Linked DNA regions of Homo sapiens: region 1 is linked to region 2. Evidence: promoter capture Hi-C in human tissues and cell types (Jung and others, 2019). All regions are on one chromosome and are shown on one strand. Each heading gives the region's core, a stretch centred on a gene start or on the middle of the fragment in contact. The rest is flanking DNA. Distances are from core to core; before and after follow the strand shown.

Evidence for each region. Contacts are between HindIII fragments. The study calls those that stand out against the background at their distance.
Region 1: a fragment that was not itself captured here is called in contact with the fragment with the promoter of DNAJB7 in region 2 in 1 of the 25 tissues and cell types used here (dorsolateral prefrontal cortex).

Annotation. Positions count from the first base shown.
Region 1 is chr22:39,522,548-39,529,272 of GRCh38, reverse strand. It overlaps ATF4 (activating transcription factor 4), which reads right to left. Exons shown (of 3, transcript NM_182810.3): 3 at 6,590-6,725. The coding sequence ends at 6,671. It overlaps RPS19BP1 (ribosomal protein S19 binding protein 1), which reads left to right. Exons shown (of 4, transcript NM_194326.4): 4 at 1-180. Among named protein-coding and RNA genes, the nearest start is that of ATF4, 5.3 kb to the right of the region's middle. RefSeq lists enhancers at 131-350, 371-420, 431-660, 4,653-4,702, 4,803-4,852 and 4 more. The HindIII fragment of the contact is 7,295 bases long and covers 35-6,725 here.
Region 2 is chr22:40,860,863-40,868,018 of GRCh38, reverse strand. DNAJB7 (DnaJ heat shock protein family (Hsp40) member B7) reads left to right here and starts at 5,906. Exons shown (of 1, transcript NM_145174.2): 1 at 5,906-7,156. The coding sequence starts at 6,025. The coding sequence ends at 6,954. The region is part of intron 1 of XPNPEP3 (X-prolyl aminopeptidase 3); the gene reads right to left. The HindIII fragment of the contact is 4,259 bases long and covers 3,535-7,156 here.

The DNA of each region.
Region 1 (6,725 bases), core at 2,433-4,932, 1.3 Mb after region 2:
CCTGGGCAGAGCATCTGCACCTGCCGGAAAGGAACGTATCTGTTTTGTTTGCTTTTGCCCAGGTGGGGCCTCTGGGCTGTTTGCTGTGGAGCAAGGCTAATTCCTGAGCCCTTGGGGACGACAGCTCCAGGAGTAGGAAGAAGGGTGGGCTTCCAAGTTACAATAAATGTGAACCCAAGAGCTGTGTTTGCTGCTGGTCTGCCCCACAGGGTGTCTCCCATCTCCTGTGGCACCAAAGCGCCACGCTGCCTTCCCCATCTCCCAGCGTGCTTCTGAGCTCCGGGTCACAAGTCCTCCAGTCCAGCCCCGGCAGGCAGCCATCAGAACACCCACCTCTGCTGCCAGGGGCGCCTCCCTCCTCTGGGGATGGCCACCACAGCTGAAAAGGTGACTCTTGAGGCAAAAATAGCTGCTGGGAGCAGTTCCAGTGCAGGTGGCTGGGTCCGGCAGTGGGAGTGTTGCTACTTCCGCCTGCGCCCGGGGAGCGTGGAGTCCGCCATGAGCGGAGCATTTCACCCGGTGTGTTCCTTTTCTGGCTCATGCTCTGGTGAGCAGCCAGGTGGGGTCAAATGCCTGTCATAGTGGGGAGGGGACAGTAGAGAGGACTCAGGAGGTAACCTGAAGAAACGGTTTCACACTCAGGTGTGCCTGAGCTGAAGGATGGAGGCGAGGGGAGGCAGGCGGGACCCTTCCAGCAGGCATGGGGTGGGATCAGGAGGTGAAGGACAGGCAGGCACTGAATGACTGTGTGAGTGAAGACAGGAGGCGGAAGCGGAGGCAGGGCCAGCGGAGGAGAGGTGAGAAGTGAGAGCCCAGGAGTCTTTCATCAGGGGGCCTGAGGGGAAGGGACCTGGGAAGCCTTCAGGCAGCTGCTTTTGTCTCCTAAACTCTCTCCTCCCCACCATAGCCTAAGGGCTCCTTTGCTGTGGTGACTCCCATTGCTGCTGGTCGAGAGCCTGGCAGTCCCCTGAGGCTGGGTTTGATGGGAGTGACATCTGGCTCCCTGGGTTCCCTGACGACATTGCCTTCGGGCCTGTTATTTGTAACAGCACTTGCTCCCCCACTGCCCTGGGTGGTCTGTTCCTGGTCTTTAACCGTGTTCCATCCTAAATGAGGACATGAGGGGGCCACACATCTTCCGGGGGCAGAGCTGGAGTCAGGTCCTGTCTCCAGGCGACCTCCATCAGCAGGGGGATGGGGAGGGAGTGTGCTGTGACCCCAAACCTTAGAGACCAGGGCCTCTTCCTGCCTGCTGGGCTGTAATGACCCCACTGGGCAGAGAAACTTGGATATCCGTGGAGACTAGTGGCCTTAATATTTTAAGCGGCTTAACAAAAAGCCAACTCAGCCTCTAGCGCCTGGAAGAACAGGCTGACCATAGGCCCAGGGCCCCTTTCTAACAAGAACACGCCCACTGTTACATAATCGCCCAGGTGTTCTTCCTGCTCCCTCCCTGTGTAGAGTGCAGAGTGACAGGCACTGTCCCACGAGGAGGATGGGAGCCAGGGTCCTGCTGCTTCCCCACTTGTGAGCTTCCCCATAAATCTTACACTTAATGCCAAATAACACTATTGGGTGCCTGTCCATGCCCCTCTGGGTGACAGTCATTTGTGTTTACTGCTGGCACTCTGGTCCAGTGGGTCAAGGACAGGACACTGAGGAGTCTGCCTTTTAACTGTCACCCTGAGCAGTTCTGGTGCAGCTGTCTGGAAGGCAGCAGGGAGCTGGGGTGACTGGGGTAGCACTGGAGGAGAGAGGGTTTGTCCCCATGGGGGGCCGAAGAGGTGCTGTGATGGCCAGGACCTGGTGACCAACAGGGCCCAAATAAGAGGACACTGAGGCCAGACATAGTGGTTCACACATGTAATCCCAGCACTGTGGGAGGCTGAGGCAGGTGGATCACCTGAGGTCAGGAATTCAAGACCAGCCTGGCCAACATGGCAAAATTCCATCTCTACAAAAAAAATACAATAATTAGCTGGGCATGGTGGTGTGCACTCATGGTCCCAGCTGCTTGTGGGGAAAAGGGCTGGGGTGGGAAGATCACTGGGACCCGAGAGGCAGAGGCTGCAGTGAGCCAAGATGGCGTTACTGCACCTCAGCCTGGGTGACAGCAAGACCCTGTCTCAAAAAAAGAGGACACTGAGTTGTCACTTCAACCCAGGGCCGACAGGACAAAGCAGGAGGCCTCCCTCAGTCTAGACATCATGGATGGGTATGAAAGCACCGGAAGCGTCACAGGTGGTTTGGGGAAGCAGGGTTTGAGGAAGCCACCCCATGACCCAGAGGAGGGCCCCAGCCATGGCTTCCTGTGTCTTCCACAGTGGGATGGGCTGCTCAAGCCCCCACACTCTCTGGCCCTCTTTGCTACTAGAGGAGTTGGCCAAGGGGGCCAGGCAGGAGTGGGCCAGGACTGCAACATGGGACTCTGCTGAGGCCCAGCTGCAGGCTCAGAGCTTAGCCTGGGCAAAGGCCTCCGCCACAGGCAGTGGGACTGTGGCACTTGGTGTGTGCCCCATTCTTTCCTGCCAGGCTGACTTTTTTTTTTTTTTTTTTTTTTTTGAGACGGAGTTTCGCTCTGTCCCCCAGGCTGGAGTGCAGTGGCGCCATCTCAGCTCACTGCAAGCTCCGCCTCCTGGGTTCAAGCCATTCTCCTGCCTCAGCCTCCTGAGTAGCTGGGACCACAGGCACCCACCACCACACCTAATTTTTTTTGTATTTTTAGTAGAGACGGGGTTTCACCATGTTAGCCAGGATGGTCTCGATCTCCTGACCTCGTGATCCGCCCACCTCGGCCTCCAAAAGTGCTGGGATTACAGGCGTGAGCCACCGCGCCCAGCCTGCCCGGCTGACTTTCATGGGGTGTTCTCATTCTCTGTCCACAACTCTCCCCACCCCTCAAAGCCCAGCTGGGAGGCCCTGCTCTCTCTTCTGAAGCTGCCACTTTCTACTTGGTCTAAGCATCCACCTTCCGTTTCCCAACTAGGCTGAGAGCCCCCACCCCACCTCATGGGGCACCTGGGCAAGGGTGGTTGGCACTTGAGTGTCACTGCAAGGGCTTTTTCTTTTTTCTTTTTTTTTTTTGAGATGGGAGTCTTACTCTGTCACTCAGGTTGGAGTGCAGTGGCGTGATCTTGGCTCACTGCAACCTCTGCCTCCTGGGTTCAAACGATTCTCCTGCCTCAGCCTCCCGAGTAGCTGGGATTACAGGCACGTGCCGCCATGCCCAGCTAATTTTTTAGTAGAGATAGGGGTTTCACCATATTGGGCAGGCTGTTCTTGAACTCCTGACCTTGTGATCCACCTGCCTTGGCCTCCCAAAGCCAGGGACTTTTTATTTCTCCCTGGCCTCTTTGAAATAAAATCATGCTCTTCCCATGGTTTTCCCCATCTCAGGAAATGGGCCCTCCATCCTTTCTCTTGTTTGGCAGCGGGGGGGTTCCCTCTCTTCACACCCATATCCTGGCCGCCTCTCCTTGCCAATCCCAGCCCAGTCCCCTGCCGGGCTGACCCCTGCAACTCCCTAAGCACCAGTCTTAAGGAGCATGCCCAGCATGTCCAAGCCCTACCCAGCTGCTGTGTCACATCTGAATGTGACACGTCACCTCTTTCTTCTTTTTAGGGTCCACCTGTCTCCTTTACCAGAAGCAAAGCTCCATGAGGGCAGGGATGTTTATCTATTTGGCTCACTGCTGTAGCCAGCACCCAGACAGTGTAGTGCAGAGCAGGCACCCACTCAGGACTAGTTGTAGAAAAGATGAAGGTCGTTCTCTGCTCTCCACAACCTACAGCCTTGTCCCAGACACAAAGCAGGAGAAAATGCTGAGTGCTGTCTGCTCCCGCCTGTGAGGTCCCTTCCTATCCCCCAGCCCCGGGCCCCTGGTCACTGGGTAAAGCCCAGCTCCACCTCTGACCTGGTCAGCCTAGGCTGGGCTGGCCAAGGCCTGGCAGGGGCCACAAGTTGCCACATGCAGGGTGGTGGCCAGACATCAACTTCATCTCTGCCCCCTCTTCCCGTACCCCTTATTGTGCTGGGCTCTCCGGAACAGATATCTGCCTAGCCAAATCCAGCCGGTCTGTCCAGGCCACTATCACTGCCTATACCACCTGCCCATGGGCCAGTGTCCACCCATAGGCCAGACTTCCCAAGGGGGTGCCTAAGTCTGGGTCTTAGCTGCATCAGTAAGAGGGTTACAGTCATAAGACCCTCCTCACAGCCTCTCAGGAGGACTCTGAGCTCATCACTGGAAGGCGCCTAGAACCTCAGAGCTCTTTGAACATTTTCGCTGCAGTCATTTTTGCTATTTCCCAGGCACTGCTGTAAGTCCTGGAAATACGGGAATGAACAAGACAGCAAAATACCTGCTGCCATAGAGTGAGCTTATATTGTAGTTAGGGAATGGAGAACAGAAAGTTCATCTGTATACAGATAAACTCAATGGAGAAAAAAGTTACAAAAAAACAGCAAGTGCAAGGCTCTGAGGCAGGACCAAGCTTGGCAGACAGATGGAGAGAGGCCGGGAGCACAGTGAGGGGAGGAGGTGAGGTCAGGGAGAAGGGCAAATCCACTGTGACCTGAGCTGGTGCCTTCTGGGTGTGGGAGGACTTAGCTGCAGGGGCCTGGGAAGGGCACAGCCCCAGCATCCTGGCTCCACACCACTGGCCTGCACTGCCCTTCTTGGTGCCTCAGTTTCTCGTCTGCCAAATGAGGGCCGACCCCCACTGGCACTGGATGACTCTGATGCTCCTGGCCACACCCTAACACCTATTTAGTACCTGGATGTGGATGGAGGCCCATGGCCTTTGGAGAATTCTAGAATCTCAACAGGAAAGACCTCAAAGAGCACCAGGTCCAAGACCCATGTGTGATGCCCACTCCCAGTGGTGCCTCGGGCCACTTCTCCACAACCAGCTGCATGCATTCCATCAACAGTTGGCTCTCAGGTGACAGTCTATGCTGGGCACCAGAAAGGTCACGTGGGCCCCACCATGCAGGTCGTTACGGGCCATTTGTTTCCAGCTCAAGAGGCAAAATGAAGAGCCCAGACTGGAGCCGTCCTGGGTTCAAATCCCAGCTCTACCTCTTTGCTCAAAATCCTCCTAGGTGAGCTGGGCGTGGTGGCGGGCGTCTGTAATCCCAGCTACTCAGGAGGCGGAGGCAGGAGAATCGTTGGAATCCGGGAGGTGGAGGTTGTGGTGACCCGAGAATGCACCATTGCACTCTAGCCTGGACAACGGAGAGACCCTGTCTCAAAAAAAAAAAAAAAAAAAAAAAAAAAGGCCGGGCGCGGTGGCGGTGGCTCACGCCTGTAATCCCAGCACTTTGGGAGGCCGAGGCGGGCGGATCACGAAGTCAGGAGATGGAGATCAAGACCATCCTGGCTAACACGGTGAAACCCCCTCTCTACTAAAAATACAAAAATAATTAGCTGGGCGTGGTGGCAGGCGCCTGTAGTCCCAGCTACCCGGCAGGCTGAGGCAGGAGAATGGCGTGAACCCGGGAAGCGGAGCTTGCAGTGAGCCGCGATCGCGCCACTGCACTCCAGCCTGGGCGACAGAGCCAGACTCCATCTCAAAAAAAAAAAATTCCTCCTGGGTGTGGCGTCTGCCTCACGGGTGTGCTGCGGGGACTGGGTGAAAGAACACATGTGCTGTGCTCAGTTACAGCAGTGCCTGGGCTGCACTCACTCTCACTCTCCTCCCAGCCATTCCCCAGGCACACCCGGTCTACACCACCTTCCACAGACGGAAAACGAGGCTAATCCCGAAGGACACAAGAGGAAGGGCAGACCTACCCGGGCTGCGCTGATCTTTGCATTCAAGCATTCATCCGCAACACAGGACAAAAGACATCGCCTGCCTGGAAAGGCGAAGTCGCCCCGCCAGAAGTCCGAAGCTGCAGTGAGGTGTGGCTTCTAAGCACTGATCCATCCTAACATGTCCCGAGGCCGTCAGGCCTCCTAGTTTAGATAGCAGCAGGCACAACAGCCTTCACAGGAACTGTTGCCTGCCTTTGTGCCCAGCTCTAGCCAGAACCTGCGCAGGCTGTCATCCTTCCACCCCGTAAGGAGAAACGGAGGCCAACCCTCAGCTCCTGTCCTGTTTCAGCATCAATTCCCAAAAGGAGCCATTTCTTTCTTCAGGATGAGGCTTCTGCAGAACTGTTCAGGTAACAAGTGAAACCTAATCTTGTGTGCTATCTCAAAGACCGTGCAACCTTATTCAGGGTTTTATGCGACAGCTGTTGGCATGAAGCCCTCTTGAATAAACAGGTGGAGGCCCAGGCTGTCCCTCCCTCTGAATCTCCCAGAGATCTCCAGCCTCCTCCCCCTACACAACCAGCACTCAGCTCTGGGCAAAGGACCCAGCTTACTATAAATGGCCAACTATACGGCTCCAGGGCCCCATGAATCAGCCATCGTGGCCTACACCGAGCAGGGATGAGCAAATCCCACTCTGGGAACCGATCTTCAGCCTTGGACTGCCTCCTCCCCCAGATCTCACAGGAAATGTTAAGACCAGCTTGGGGTGGGTGGGTGGCGCTTCACTCGGTTACTTTGCCAGGAAAGGAATTCAAACGCACAAGTACTTTCCCTACAAAATAATTTATTGGAACACACAGCTACAGCACTCTATGTACAAGCACATTGACGCTCCTGACTATCCTCAACTAGGGGACCCTTTTCTTCCCCCTTGCCTTGCGGACCTCTTCTATCAAATCTTTC
Region 2 (7,156 bases), core at 4,657-7,156:
GCATTACAATATTAAATGGTGAATGCAACAGTGGATTCACACATAAGGAGTTTTGTTTGTTGGGTTTTTTTTTTTTTTTTTTGAGACAGGTCTCACTCTGTCGCCCAGGCTGGAGTGTAGTGGCATGATCATAGCTCACTGCAGCTTTGTTCCTCTGGGCTTAGGCAATAAATGAAATGAAACAATAGATCTAGAAAGTCTTCATGGTATAAATGCACTTATCCATCTCCAACAGTTTGGATGCTTTAGAAAAATGCAAACTAATATTTCCTTCCTTCTCTCCTTCAATATTTATTCATTTATTTATTTTTAAGACAGAGTCTCACTCTGTTGCCCAGGCTGGAGTCAGTGGCTCAGCCTCCCAAGTAGCTGGGACTACAGGTATGTGCCACCAAGACTGGTTAATTTTTTTTATTTTTGGTAGAGATGAGGTCTCACTATGTTGCCCAGGTTGGAAACCCACACCAATTTCTTTGTAATCATCTTAGAAGCTATGATTTTTCTTTTTTTTAAATCTTTTTAGAAGAAGCTATGATTTTTCTAAACAATCTTCTACAAACTGGAATTAACTTTTAAGACTCTTCTCTCCCAAATACATATATTATTATTCATAATTCATAGTCCTTACAGAAATTGTATGTTCACAAGGAGATTGTACAGTATTGATTGTTGAGATTAAACAGAGAGGACCTAGTGAGCGGCAAGGGGGAGGGATAAGAGCAAAGATTATGAAGTCAAATAAACCTGAGTTTGAATCTCAGCTTCTCTGGTACTAAGTGTGTAACCTTGTCCAGATTACTTCTCTGAGTCTGATTCTGTGTTTGTAAAATAATGATGATAATGCCTACCTCACGTGACAGTTAAAAATCTAACTCCTTAATTTAGAATACAAAGCCTTCAAAGCTATCTTACCTTCCTAATCTTTTCATCTCCCTCCAGCAGCACTAACCCACTGGTGGAGTAGGCTGCTGTTGCATTGGTGATTTCTCTTTCTCTCCTCCTGCACCTTCTCCACATGCACGCTCGTGCACACGTACTCATGCACACATAGTGTCTTCTGTAATCTCATTAGGCAGTAAAATTTCAGAATATAAAAAGTTAACTGATTCCTTTTTCAATGCTCATATGAAATAATCCTAGCATATTTTGGACCACTCTCAAGCAGAGGGAGCTTAACTTTATTAAATTCAAAGCAAACAAGTAACACTTTAACAGGAGACATAAATTAAGATGTTTATTCCCAGTAAATTTTTAAAAAAGGTCTCAATAGCTTTTTACTTACATTAAACATCTTTTGCCCGAAGTCATATAATTAGTAGCAAAGCTGGTGTGTTAAGTCCTATTTCAAAAATATCCAGTTCATAAGCTTCAAACTCTTTTGCTTAGGAAACTTCATGATTTGGATCCTGCTCCCTTATCTGACCTAATCCTCAAAAAACATTATTGCAGCCACACTAAGCTACTTGAAGAACCCCGGCTAAATCATTCTGCATCATAATAGCATTTGCATTAAAAAATATAGTTCTCTTAGTCTAAAGTGGACACTGCCTGCTTATACGATTACAGAAATTCTAAAAAATACCAGCTCAAACATCACTTACGCAAGAGACTTCTCTTACTCTTCTCACACCTACTGCCTCTGTTCTGCTTGTTTCAGATGTCTTCCCCAACGCTCCTATGATTTCTATTTTAATACCTACTACACTTCACATAATTGCTAATTAGTTTGCCAGTCTACTATGAACAATCTTTGGAAGCAGAGATCACTTGTTATTTGACTTTATTTTCCCAGTGACTTGATTTGAAATGTATTTTGAAGTTAAAAGTCAATGAGTCTGGCTTCTAATTGGACATAAGAAATAAAGAAAAAAGAGGAATTAAGAATAATTCTTGATTTTTGACTTGAACAAGTGAATAAATGGTTGTACCACTACATGCAACAGGAAAGCCTGAGATATTTATTGGAAATAAATTTAATGGAGAGGTCAAAGAGCAATCTTAATTTCAGGGAGAAAAGTGCTAGGCTAGATATATAAATTAGGGTGTTATAAGCACACAGATGGCATCTAAAGCCCTGGGAATGGGTATTACCCAGGGAGACTGAACAAAGCCTGGCACTGTAATATTTTAGTGTGAGAAAGAGCACAGGAGAAAGAAGGAAAACTAGAAGAGTACAGTATTTAGTGCTGGGCATGGTGGCTCATGCTTGTAATCCCAGCACTTTGGGAGGCCGAGGCAGGCAGACAGATCACTTGAGGCCAGGAGTTCGGGACCAGCCTGGCCAACATGGCTAAACCCTGTCTCTACCCGCTGCCCCCCCGCCCCCCACAAAAAAAGAGTGTGGTATTTAGGAAGTTAAAAAACAAGTGTTTTAAGAAGTGGGGAGGACTATGCCAGGCGCAGTGGCTCACACCTGTAATCCCAGCACTTTGGGAGGCCGAGGCAAGTGGATCACCTGAGGTCGGGAGTTCGAGACCAGCCTGACCAACATGGAGAAACCCTGTCTCTACTAAAAATACAAAATTAGCCAGGCATGGTGGCACATGCCTGTAATCCCAGCTACTCGGGAGGCTGAAGCAGGAGAATGGCTTGAACCTGGGAAGTAGAGGTTGCAGTGAGCCGAGATCACACCACTGTACTCTAGCCTGGGCAACGAGAGTGAAACTCCATCTCAAAAAAAAAAAAAAAAAAAAGTGAGGAGGGCTCACAGTGTGGCAAGTGCTTCAAAATACAAGGAAGCCAAAAGGACAACCACTGGATATGGTAACATCAATCACTGGAGACCCTGGCGATTTTAGCAGAGTAAAGAAGACAGAAGACAGATTGGAGTATGCCAAGGAGGGAATAGGATGTAAGAAAGCAAAGACACTGAGACAATACTCTGGATAAGTTTTGTTGTGAAGAGGCAGAGAAAATGGCACAGCGGATGGCTGGGAGGCAAAGGATCAACAAAGAAGGGTATAACTGCAGAAACAAGTGCTCGTATTATAACTTTACACTCCACTGAAATTAGTTTTTTCAAACTATATGAATTTCTTAAGAGCAGAATTTCCTATTTTCTACCTTTTCTCTGTATCATAGTGTCAGAGGCGTTTGAACCAGAGCAACTCCATCTTCAGTAGGGGTTTGGTAAAATAAGGCTAAGACCTACTGGGCTACATTCCCAGTAAGTTAAGGCAGTCTTAATCACAGAATGAAATAGGAAGTCAGCACAAAATGCAGGACACAAAAACCCTGCTAATAAAACAGGTAGGTTATAGTAAAGAAGCTGACCAGCTGGGTGCGGTGGCTCATGCCTGTAATCCCAGCGCTTTGGGAGGCTGAGGCGGGCAGATCACCTGAGGTTGGGAGTTCGAGATCAGCCTGACCAACATGGAGAAACCCCCTCTCTACTAAAAATACAAAATTAGCCGGGCGTGGTGGTGCATGCCTGTAATCCCAGCTACTCAGCGGGCTGAGGCAGGAGAATGGCTTGAACCCGGGAGGTAGATGTTGCAGTGAGCCAAGACCCCACCATTGCACTCCAGCCTGGGCAATAAGAGCGAAACTCCACCTCAAATAATAATAATAGTAACAATAATAATGAAAATAAAATAAGTCCCTGTCAAATTTAGACACTGCGAACATCTTCTCCTAGACTGTCACCTTCCTGTGAGCTTTACCTGTGATGTTCTTAAAAAAAGGAGCTGGCCAAACCCCACTAAAACTAAGATGGCAATGACAGTAACCTCTGATTGTCCTCACTGCTACACTCCCACCAGCACCCCAAGAGTTTACAGATGCCATGGCAACGTCAGGAAGTTACCCTATATGGTCTGAAATGGGGAAGCATGAATAATCCACTTCCTGTTTAGGATATAATCAAGAAATAACCATAAAAATGGGCAACCAGCAGCCCTTGGGGCTGCTCTGCCTATGGAGTAGCCATTCTTTATTCCTTTACTTTCTTAATAAACTTGCTTTTACTTTACTCTGTGGATTCCACTGAAATTCTTTCTTGCACGAGATCCAAGAACCATCTCTTGGGGTCTGGATTGGGACCCCTTTCCGGTAACAGCAGGTTCTCAGTATCTGTTTGTGGAATGCCTAGAACCTAAACTCTTTAAGTCCTAGTCCGAGAAATGCAGTAGAGTGGAATGAGAACTTGAAATTAGACTCAAGTTTAAAAATCAGATTTTTCACTAACAAGCTATGTAGCCTTAGACAAATTACTTTCTCTCTCAGAACGTCTGTTTTCTTATGGGCATAAAATATTTATTTTGCTAGAGTGCTGTGTCAGTTAAATGAGCACTTGCTACAGTGTGACTCAGAGGGTACTCAAATAATTTTCGACATTATTGGTTATTATTTCCAGTGGTAGGCAAATTATAATCATGGGTAAGCCACACATAAGTACATGTAAGCACATACACTGGAGAGAATTTAAATTGAGTTTTAAGCATTTCACAATACCTCTAAAAAATGAGTATATATAAAAATGCAAAGCAAAAAAATATTCAGACCTGACAAATGGTCTTGAAAGACTAGAAGCATACACTACAGTTTTAGATTTCATTAGCGTATCATTTAACTGAGGGGTTATAAATGTGATGGAAAATAAAATAAACACAACATAGAGGAGGAAAAACAAAGATTACAGGGAATTTTCTCAGACAATAAAATGAGCCAGGTATAGAATATAAGACCTTTAAATTCGGGTCTAGACTACTGGTAGTTTATCCCCAAAGAAAATCACCTTTGGTCTGTTTCTAATTTGGCTCTCGAATTCTACTTTCCCATACATGACTGAATTTCCAAATAGTAGCCACTGATCCATTACAAATGTAAATCACATCATTAAACTTGCATATTCCCCACTCCCCACAAAGGCTTCCCACTGTACTTGAAATAAGTGCTAGCTTTATGTCCAACAGCCCCAACTGGCAACAACCAAAATGTCCATCAACATGGCCAGTGGCTACCATATTAGATCACTATGTGGCTGACTGTCATATAGGTCTCAGCAATAATGTCATCTCCTCAGAAGCCTTCTAAAACCAATCTAAAGTAGCGCTCTGCCCCCAGCACATTGCTATTTTTTTTGGAGCACATATCGCATTATCTTAAATTATTTTATTTGTTCTCCTATTTGTATTCTATTATAATGCAAGCACCAGGAAAACTGGTGTCTTTTGTTCAATACTGCTATCACCAGTGGCTAAAACGGTGCCTGGCACAAAGTAGACAATCAATAATTATACAGTGAATACATAAACACACAACTTTCCAAATCTTTAATTACATGTTTTACAGCAGTAAACCTTGGGTGGACAAAGATACTATAATCTCAAATGACTTACCACTGGCATGCAGAAAGTTAACATATCAGGCTACTTCCTCCAAGAGGCTTTCATTGACACCCCCAGCCTGAGCTGTCTCTCATATAATTGTTTAGCATCCAGTACTTCCTCTCATCATAACTATTATATTGTAACTAAGTTACTTGTTTGTATCTCCCTCTGAACTGTTTCTTGACTGAAATAAATATGTCAACTGTTTGAATACTTTCTTCACCCGTAAGTCAGTACTTCATTTTTCTAAACCAAAGCATAGAAGAGCTGGGAAGCAATTAAGGCGCAGTAATCTAGAGGTCATATTATGCAAGGGATATGCTGTGGCTATTAGCAACAGATTCCATTGGCTTATGAGGCACTGCCTGAAGCTTCCAGGGAAACATACAGGGGAAACAGTCCAGAGGATTCAGGATGGTCTGGTACGACTCTGGACTAGCTCTATTTGGAAGGTCCAGTCCCTACACTGACCCCAGAATGACACCATAATGCAGCCCTCTCTGACATATTTGTAACTCTGCTTGCCACATAATCAGTATCCTCATCTCTTAGCACATGGTAATAACATTGTCTTTAACATAAAAGTGTACCTATTTGCAGTCACTACCTCTATCACCACCACCAGCAGAGCCTGAGCTGAGGAAACCACGGTTCTCAATACCCAGCACACCCACTTCCAACTATCTGTTAAAACATGGTGGATTACTATGAAGTTCTAGGACTGCAAAGATATGCTTCACCTGAGGACATTAAAAAAGCTTATCATAAAGTGGCACTTAAATGGCACCCTGATAAAAATCCAGAAAATAAAGAAGAAGCAGAGAGAAAATTCAAAGAAGTAGCTGAGGCATACGAGGTATTATCAAATGATGAGAAACGGGACATTTATGATAAATATGGCACAGAAGGATTAAACGGAGGTGGAAGTCATTTTGATGATGAATGTGAGTACGGCTTCACATTCCATAAGCCAGATGATGTTTTTAAAGAAATTTTTCATGAAAGGGATCCATTTTCTTTTCACTTCTTTGAAGACTCGCTTGAGGACCTGTTAAATCGTCCAGGAAGCTCCTATGGAAACAGAAACAGAGATGCAGGATACTTTTTCTCCACTGCCAGTGAATATCCAATTTTTGAGAAATTTTCTTCATATGATACAGGATATACATCACAGGGTTCATTGGGGCATGAAGGCCTTACTTCTTTCTCTTCCCTGGCTTTTGATAATAGTGGGATGGACAACTACATATCTGTTACAACTTCAGACAAAATCGTTAATGGCAGAAATATTAATACAAAGAAAATTATTGAAAGTGATCAAGAAAGAGAAGCTGAAGATAATGGAGAGTTGACATTTTTTCTTGTAAATAGTGTGGCCAATGAAGAGGGCTTTGCAAAAGAATGCAGCTGGAGAACACAGTCATTCAACAACTATTCACCAAATTCTCACAGCTCCAAACATGTATCTCAATATACTTTCGTGGACAATGATGAGGGAGGTATATCTTGGGTTACCAGCAACAGAGATCCCCCTATTTTCTCAGCAGGAGTCAAAGAGGGTGGTAAGAGGAAAAAAAAGAAGCGTAAAGAGGTGCAAAAGAAGTCTACCAAAAGGAATTGTTAAATTGACTCTTCAAATATATAACATTTGAACACAATTGTGTGTGTTTTGGTTAATCACAAATTTTGTAGATAACACTTAATACTATACTAAGAGCTTTTCAACACTTTTAGCAGGATTGTGGACATTTGGTTAGTAGTTTTTTTGAATGGGTATGTCAGAAAAGGATGAGTTTGTGGTGACAGTTGGTGCTAATAAGAATTTG